Regions from separate parts of the Homo sapiens genome. Here region 1 is linked to region 2. Evidence: promoter capture Hi-C in 16 types of primary human blood cells and fetal thymus (Javierre and others, 2016). All regions are on one chromosome and are shown on one strand. The core of a region is centred on a gene start or on the middle of the fragment in contact, and the rest is flanking DNA. Distances in the headings are between cores, read along the strand shown.

Region 1 (4,341 bases), core at 812-3,311, 280 kb after region 2:
CAAAGCAAGGATAGCGTGGGTTAGACATACCTGAAATGAAAGCGTCTTACTTTATCTAGGTACATATTTGCGTCAGTAAGGCGCAACGCCATTTCTCTCTTGGAATTCAGAAGTGAAATATGGTGACTGGGACGCCTGTACATTGCTTTGACTTAAAAATTGAAGTCCATTATTCTGACCGAAAGTTAATCTGATGATTAATTGGTTAAACATACTATCGTTGCTAATTAGCATAATTATTATTTACAATAAAGTGAGCTAAATAGCTACAACTAAAATATATTTAAATTACTGTGATATTGTGATGCTAAAGATGTGTTGAAATTAATATCTTGAATTTCTCAACCCTGCCTAAATGCCTCTGAGAGTAATTAGTATAATTAAAAGTCACTAGAGAAAGTGAATGACTCTAATAACAGGATAACAAATTCTTTTCAAGTCAGATGGTTTCCAGTTCTTTGCTTTCAACAAAATTAATGGTGGCCCATGAATTGTCAGCTGATGAAGGAACACTATTTGGTTTTTGGCATGCAACTCGGAAAGAAACCAAACGATTGATTGACATGCTTACAACAAAACTACTAGCATTCTCACCTATTTATGTAAAACCATTTCTCAGCACTTGTATCTGTGAAAACAACAGAATTGAAAATGAACCCTGTTAATCTACCAGTAGGAACTATTCATCCAGATAAATGAATTAATTGGTGGGTCAGCCCCATCTATCTCACTAAGAGATGTGTTCCCAATAGAATTTCACCTTTTATAACTGTGTGTTATCAATATTTGCAATCGTGTCATTTTGATCCATTATATACTAAAGATGATTGTGATGATTACTCACTTCAGAAGAATTCCAGCGTAGAGCCATAAAGTTACACGAAATTTTTTAAGGTTTACTACATATGTCATATTTTTATTGCGAAGAAGTGATCAAGAAAAGGTTGTTCAAACATCAAAGTACTATATTTGAATAACATTTTTTGTTAGAGTACAATCTAAATATGTTAGAGATAATAAAAGAACAATGTTGAAGAGCTCATTAGTGTATGTTTTAATGCATAATGGTGGTTATTCAGTTGTTATGTAGATTCTCTTGGATACATTATAAAGAGTGATTTAACAGTTTTATCTTAAAATGTCAGTATTTACAATTTGCAAGAATTTACATCCATTGCAACTATTTGAATTTATGATGGAACCAGTTAGATACCAACTTAAATATATAAGGGGTAAACACTTTTTCAAAATTTTCTCTCCCTCAGGCCATCATTGCTATGCCCTCTTCACTCTTGACTTCAGCTGTCTGTGAGTCCAAAGCCTCACAGGAGCTTCTACCACCCAAGCTTTGTGGCTAAGGGCACAGGTTTAGAGTCAAGCTGCTTGATTGCCAGCCACGGCCGCACCATGTATTAGCACGTTCTTTAATCTGTGCATCAGATCCTCATCAGTAAAATGAGAATAACATAGTATGTACTTACTTTCTCATACTGTTAGGATCAAATGAGAAAATTCATGTAAAGCTCCTAGCAATGTAGATGGCCCTGAGTGCCCAATAAAGGTTAGCTACTGCTTGGGAGAGGGGCATCATAGCATTGATCTGTCACCATGTGTCTGAAGAGATAGGAGAGTAGGAGGCCGAGGTGTCAAAAAGCCAAGACTGACTGGAATTCATTCATTCAATAAATACTGAATGTCTGCGAAATGCCAGACGCATTTCCAGGTGCCAGGGATATAGCAGTGAACCAAAGCCCCTCTCCTGGAGCTTACATTCTTAGCTGGGGTGGATGCAGTGTTTGATAAATAATAAGCAAATATTTAATAGTAAAAGTGGAAGTGGTGATAAGTGCTATGAAGAAAAAGCAGCAAAAAGGCAATACAGCATGTTGGTGTGAGGGATGCTGCTTTACATAAGTTGGTCAAGGAAGCCTTCTCAGATTAACTGGCATTTGAGTCCCCCAAAAAAAGTAAGAGAACAAGCTGTGTGGATATCTGAGGAAATTGCCAGTCAGAGTGAAGAGCAAGTGCAAAGGCCCTGAGATTGGCCAATGCTTATCATATCTGAGGAATGGCAAGAGGCTGTGGAAAGAGTAAGGAAGAGGGGGAGTGCAGATCCATGCCATCATGCAGTCTTTTAGTTAAAAGACTTTTACTTAGAATGAAAGAATAAGCCATTGCAGGATTTTGAGCAGAGCATTGCAGAGTTTTGAGCAGACAATCCTTCTCATTACAACGTGGAGAATAAATTTAATGGGGAATGGAAGGAGGGAGTGCAGTTAGGAGGCCATTTCAAGAATCCAGGTGATTTAGCAGTTGCCAAGGATATCAGAAAAAAAGAAAAAAGAATCCAGGTGAGAGATGGTAGTGCAGACTAATGTGGTGGCAGTGGAGAACTAGTGAATTATGGAAAGTGAATAATCACTTGTTTCTCTTTTCAGAAAGACAGTACTAATAGAAGGGCTGGCCTGTGTGGAGTCTAAAAATGGGAACCTCAAAACAGGCTGTTGGCAGGATTTTGCTAAAGGAGAAAGACTGGCAGGGTGTGCTGGCTCACACCTGTAATCTCAGTTCTTTGGGAGGCCAAGGTGGGATAATTGCTTGAGTGCAGGAGTTCGAGACCAGCCTAGGCAACACAGTGAGACTTCATCTCTATAAAAATAAATAAAATGACTGAATTTGAAAGATAAAGATTATTATCCCTAGAGTGATAGACATTGCTGTAGGGTAGTCCATCTACCCTGTCTAACCTAAATCATAGAGTTGCTCTCAAGCTTTTTCCCTATCTTGCCTTGATTCTCTGCTTACCAAGCATTCAAGGTCCCTTAATTGAAACTCTGGCCATAAGTGCTCTGGCCTCAAGAAAAGAATGATCCCCCTTGGCTGGGCGCAGTGGCTTACGCCCGTAATCCTAGCATTTTGGGAGGCCGAGGTGGGTGGATCACTTGAGGCCAGGAGTTTGAAACCAGCCTGGCCAACATGGCGAAACCCCATCTCTACTAAAAATACAAAAAAAAAAACAAAAGACAAAAAACCAGGCATGGTGGTGGACGCGTATAATCTGGAGGCTGAGGCAGGAGAATCGCTTGAACCCGGAAGGCGGAGGTTGCAGTGAGCGGAGATCACACCACTGCACTCCAGCCTGGGTACCCTTACAAGAGCAGCTGTTATTTCTTTTGCATCTAGCTCATTCTACTTTCTAGCTCATACGTTCTGTCTCTCATATAGGCTACTAATTCTGTGTTACTCCCTGTTAAAAAAGAACAAAAACAAAAACCCTGTAATGGTCCATTTATGATAGTATAAAGCCCAACCTATATATGGTATATATGGTATGACCTTCGAGGTCCTTCATTACCTGACATCAGTCTACTCTTCAAAACTCTTCTTTTTTGGCCGGGCGCGGTGGCTCACGGCTGTAATTCCAGCACTTTGGGAGGCCGAGGCGGGTGGATCATGAGGTCAGGAGATCGAGACCATCCTGGCTAACACGGTGAAACCCTGTCTCTACTAAAAATACAAAAAATTAGCCAGGCGTGGTGGCGGGTGCCTGTAGTCCCAGCTACTTGGGAGGCTGAGGCAGGAGAATGGCATGAACCCGGGAGGCTGAAGTTGCAGCGAGACAAGATTGCGCCACTGCACTCCAGCCTGGGTAACAGAGCGAGACTCCGTCTCAAAAAATATACATATATATATATCCTTCTGGGCCGGGCGCAGTGGCTCATGCCTGTAATCCCAGCACTCCGGCAGCCCAAGGCGGGTGGATCACCTGAGGTCCGGAGTTCCAGACCAGCCGGGCCAACATGGTGAAACCCCATCTCTACTAAAAATACAAAAAGTTAGCCAGGCATGGTGGCGGGCGCCTATAATCCCACCTACTCGGGAGGCTGAGGCAGCACAATCGCTTGAACCTGGGAGGCAGAGGTTGCGGTGAGCTGAGATCGCGCCACTGCACTCCAGCCTGGGCAACAAGAGCGAAACTCTGTCTCAAAAAGTAATAAAAATAAAAATATACTTCCATGATGATCCCGCTCAGGAATATTATCTTCCATTTCTTTGTCTGCCTATGTAATCATTTATGGGACACCTCGATGTCACTTCCTTTGCAAAGCCTTTCCTGGCCCCACCCTGTATTCACCCACCTGTTTTTGCATTTAGTACACGATACAGTGAAGTCTCATCCAGGGGTGGCATTTTAACTCCAGTGGATCAGGCAGAAATTACAAATGGTCAAGATTACCCTTCCCTTAGGAAGATGCCCCTTTGGAGACTGCTATTTTTTTTTTTAAAGACAGGGTCTCACTCTGCCATCCAGGCTGCTTGCTGCAGCAATCTCCTAGGCTC
Region 2 (4,439 bases), core at 22-2,521:
CTGTCCTACTGATCTAGCACCAAGTGGTTCCTCTTGAAACAGTTATTTTTTTTCCTCCCAGAAATTTATCCTGAAGAAATAATGAATGAGTTGACTCACTTAAAAGCTTGGTCTCTGAAGCTCCGTAAGTCTAAAAATGATTCCTTCCTGTGATTCTCTGGTTTCTACTCTGACGCTGGGATAAGAGATTGCAAATTAGGTTGGGCTTTCTTGAGAAGGCTGGATTCAGGGACCCAGGAACACTTTTTTTTATTTTTTTTTTGTTAAGCTGGATCCTTCAGTTTAAACTCCAAATGTTTCTCTCTGTAGAAACTCGCCATCTCCTATGAGCTTAGAACTGCTGGGGCTCTAGAAAGGGTATAATGGGCAAACCGGGGACTCACATCTTCATTTACACAGTCTGCACTGGAAGATCTGCAGATACACCAAGAGACTCTACAAAATGACTACAAATCGAAATTTACTCAGCATTCATTGCTCAAACATTTCAGGAGAATAAACCCAACTCTGTTTTATGCAGGAATGCTATACTGTAAAAAAAAAAAAAAAGAAATTTGGAGAAAATGTATCTGAGTTTGAATCTCAGTTCTTCCACTTACTAAGCTGTGTGAGTCCAGGCAAGTAATTTCACCTTTCAGCTTCAGTTAACTCATATGCAAAATGGTAATAGCATTTACTTCAAATGATTGCTGAGAATACCCTTCTAATCCATAGCAGTTTCTCAAGAATGCTTTCTTCCTGGATCCCTTGAAATAGCTTACAGTTTCCACTGGATCCCTTGACACGGCTTAAAATTGTCGCAGGCTCCAGTCGGGCCAACTATGCTCTTGGAACCAGGAAAGGTACAGTTAGATGAACAGACTCCTACATAGTGACCTTGACCTACAAGAGCAGGAATGCAAATTGAGCCTCTCCCAGTCCCACCAGAGCCCTGGACATCTACCCAGTGCCAGTCGGAGCCCAACTCTTGCTTTCTCTCAGCTACTCGAGTTGAACAGGACCCACATATCCAAACCTGAAGTCACTGCGCTTGGAGACTAAAGTTTTATCTTCGGTAGGGTAAACCTAGAAGCCAGTCCCCGCCTTTCTCTTACGTCCTCCGAGTCCAGCAAAGCCATACCTGCCACCCTTTCACTGCCTCGCTCGCAGCTCCGGCTCCAAGCCTGGGATCAGTCACAGCGTCGTCCAGAGACAGGGGAGCAACACCCGCCCGCACTTCCCGCGGCGCTGATTTGAAGATTGAATACCGGCTACCGTCCTACTACGCGTGTGCGGAAGTAACTGTCCACCTAGAGTTCCTGGACTCCTCCCGGGTGTAGGCCATCCGTCGGAGACCACATTTCCCATAAGGCCAGTGGAGCTCGTTTCCGGAAGACGTCAGACGCTGCTTCCTCTTGGGGGGTGGTGCGGAGATTCCCGGGTTGGTATCTCTATTGCTAGCCTGAGAGCCACGCTTTTTAAGTCGTTTTCATTTAAAAGGATACACAGCATTTTTAAATACTGGAAAGTAAAATCGGCGGTATGCTAAAAACAATTTGCTCTTACTCAGCAGGGTTTCTTCTAGCAATGCACCAGGTTAAGTCGGAGAGGTGAAGAGGATCCAACAAAGAAGACTGAGAAGGAATAATCCATGAAGTAGATGGAAAAGTAGGAGAGTTTAGATCTGCAAAACCAAGGGAAGGAAGTGTTTCAAGAAGGGAGTGACCCATTGTCTCAAATGTTGCTCATAGGTCAAGTAAAATGAGAATTAAGAATGGGCCACTGTAGCAATGGTCACCAGTGATGTTGAAACGCCATTTTGGCAGTGGTGGAAGTTTGATAAAGTCTGATGAAAATTTGATAGGAGTTGGAGGGAAGGATGGGAGGAGAGGAAATGGAGAAAGCAAATATACGCAATACTTTTAAGAAGTTTTGTTTTTAAGGTGAGCAGAAAAATAAGGCTATCATGGGATAGGGATTTTGTTAATCTTTTGTTGTTGCGTTTTTCCACGTTCTAATTTTTTTTTTTTTTTTAATTCAAAGATGGGGCTGAGTGTGGTGGCTTATGCCTGTAATCCTAACATTTCAGGAGGCCAAAGTGGGAGGATTGGTTGAGCCCAGGAGTCTGAAACTGCCTAGGCAACATAGTGAGACCCTCATCTCTACAAAAAATAAAAAACTAGCCTGGCATGGCACCCGCCTGAAGTCCCAACTACTTGAGAGGCTGAGATGGGAGGATCGCTTGAGCCCAGACAGTAGAGACTGCAGTGAGCCGTGATCCCGCCACTGCACTGCAGCATGGGCGACAGAGCTAGTCTCTGTCTCAAAAAAATAAAATAAAAAAGATGGAAGAAATTATAGTAAGTTTATGTACTAATTAAAAGGATCTAGGCTGGGCGCAGTGGCTCACGCCTGTAATCCCAGCACTTTGGGAAGCTTAGGTGGGCAGATCACCTGAGGTCAGGAGTTGGAGACCAGCCTGGCCAACGTGGTGAAACCCCGTCTCTACTAAAAATACAAAAATTAGCCGGGCGTGGTGGCAGACGCCTGTAAACCCAGCTACCTGGGAGGCTGAGGCGGGAGAATCACTTGAACCCGGGAGGCAGAGGTTGCAGTGAGCCGAGATCACACCACTGCACTCCAGCCTGGGCGACAGAGCGAGGCTCTGTCTCAAATAAATGAATTAGTTAATAAAATAAAACAAAAGATCCAGTAGAGGCGGGAAATACACAATTCAGGATAGACAGGCTAGTTACTCGGAGGAATGTCCTTGAGAAGAGAAGGGATGGAATCCAGTACACAATCACAGGGATCATTCTAAGTAAGAGTATGGATAATTCATCTCCATTGAAATAAAAGGGGAGGCAGAGTTTATAAGTACAGATCCAAACAGGTGGACAAATATGGTGGTAGGAGAAAGAGGATGCCCTGTTCTGAGTGCTTCTATTTTCCCAGTGAAATAGGAAGCTGAAATGAAGATAGGGGGAAAGTATTTTAGACTTGACAGAAAAGATGAATACCGTATTATGATGATTTTGAAACATGATTTTTTCATATTTTAACATCTGTGAAATTGCTGTCTTACAAGTGATGGCATTCCATAGTTTAATCAGGAGCATTGTTTTTTATTAGTATATAAAATAATAATACAACTTATAATCAATGGCATCTGAGATTCGATAAAGTATGATTTATGAATGTGAGCAAGTGAATAGATTAAGGAAATGTAGTACTATTGCCTGGCACCATTAAGAACTGGCTTGATATTAGTAGCCATTATCGCTTCTCAGCCTTTTGGCTAAGATCAAGTGATATTAGTACCCACTGACTTTACTAGCATTTTCTATGCAATAAACACATCTCTCTCTCTCTGCCTCCCCTCCCGTCCCCTCCCCTCCCCTCTCCTCTCCTCTCTCTCAACAGAAAGGACATATATTAAAGACATGGGTAGTAGAATAAATTCATTACATCTTAATATCTAAAGTATTTTGGACCAAATTACTTATGTATTTTTATTAGAAACAGTATGTATTTTGTGCAACCCAAAAATTAGGCATTTAATTTTACAAAACATTTCATTATGGTAATTTTAAACTATGCAATAGTAGAAAGAATAGTGGTGAACTTCCATGTATCCATCCCCCAACTCCAATAATTATCAACTCAGGGCCAATTCTGTTTCATCTCTACCCCCAACCCCATTGCATAGTATTTTGAAGCAAATCCCAGAGCATATAATTTCACCAATAAAAATAAAGACTTAAAAAACCATATTATTATCACATCTAAAATATTAACAATATTTCCTTAACATCATCAAACATTGAGTCATTGTTCAAATTATCAATTTTCTCATAATTGCAATTTCTTTTAGAGTTTTTAAAAAATTAAGTACAAACGTTGGGCACAGTGGCTCATGCCTGTAACCACATCACTTTGGGAGGCTGAAGAAGAGGGAGGATTGCTTGAGGCCAAGAGTTTGAGGCTGCAGTCAGCTATGATCATACCACAACTTTAGAGGTTGTAAAAAAGGGACACTCTAATTCTATCATTCCTTTGTCATTTAGCAGCTGGATTATTCCTATAAAGAGGAACTTCATATCATGTACTATGTAGTTATTCAGGTATACAGTTCACATAGGAATGTCAGGAAAAAAATTTATTTACCAGTTTTCAACTTAACATCCCAATTATCTCTTAAACATGACCAATTTTTGAGCATCATTATGAACTCATAGATTTAAACATGTTTGATGTGCTTCAATCTATTGCTATTGTTATCCCTACTGATATTCAAACTGTCACATCTTTGGCCATTGGGAGCCTCTTTAAGTTGGCTCTTGAGAGTCCTCTTCTTTTGGAATGATCCTATTAGTCTTCAATAGCTTGTTATCTATATGACAAGGTGCTTCAGGTTTCTCTTGTTCATTTCCTGACCCAGACCTTAAATCAGCCATTTC

What was found. The method cuts DNA at HindIII sites, captures the fragments that hold promoters and counts their contacts. A CHiCAGO score of 5 or more calls a contact.
Region 1: a contact is called between a fragment that was not itself captured here and the fragment with the promoter of ZNF684 in region 2, in 1 of 17 cell types (non-activated CD4 T cells). The highest score is 5.3, in non-activated CD4 T cells.

What each region holds. Positions count from the first base shown.
Region 1 is chr1:40,253,123-40,257,463 of GRCh38, reverse strand. No RefSeq gene overlaps it. Among named protein-coding and RNA genes, the nearest start is that of ZMPSTE24, 2.9 kb to the left of the region's middle. The HindIII fragment of the contact is 1,425 bases long and covers 1,349-2,773 here.
Region 2 is chr1:40,528,469-40,532,907 of GRCh38, reverse strand. It overlaps ZNF684 (zinc finger protein 684), which reads right to left and starts at 1,271. Exons shown (of 5, transcript NM_152373.4): 1 at 1,121-1,271. LOC124904149 (a long non-coding RNA gene) reads left to right here and starts at 1,362. Exons shown (of 2, transcript XR_007066022.1): 1 at 1,362-1,420; 2 at 1,553-2,330. RefSeq lists an enhancer at 1,177-1,471. The HindIII fragment of the contact is 2,309 bases long and covers 109-2,417 here.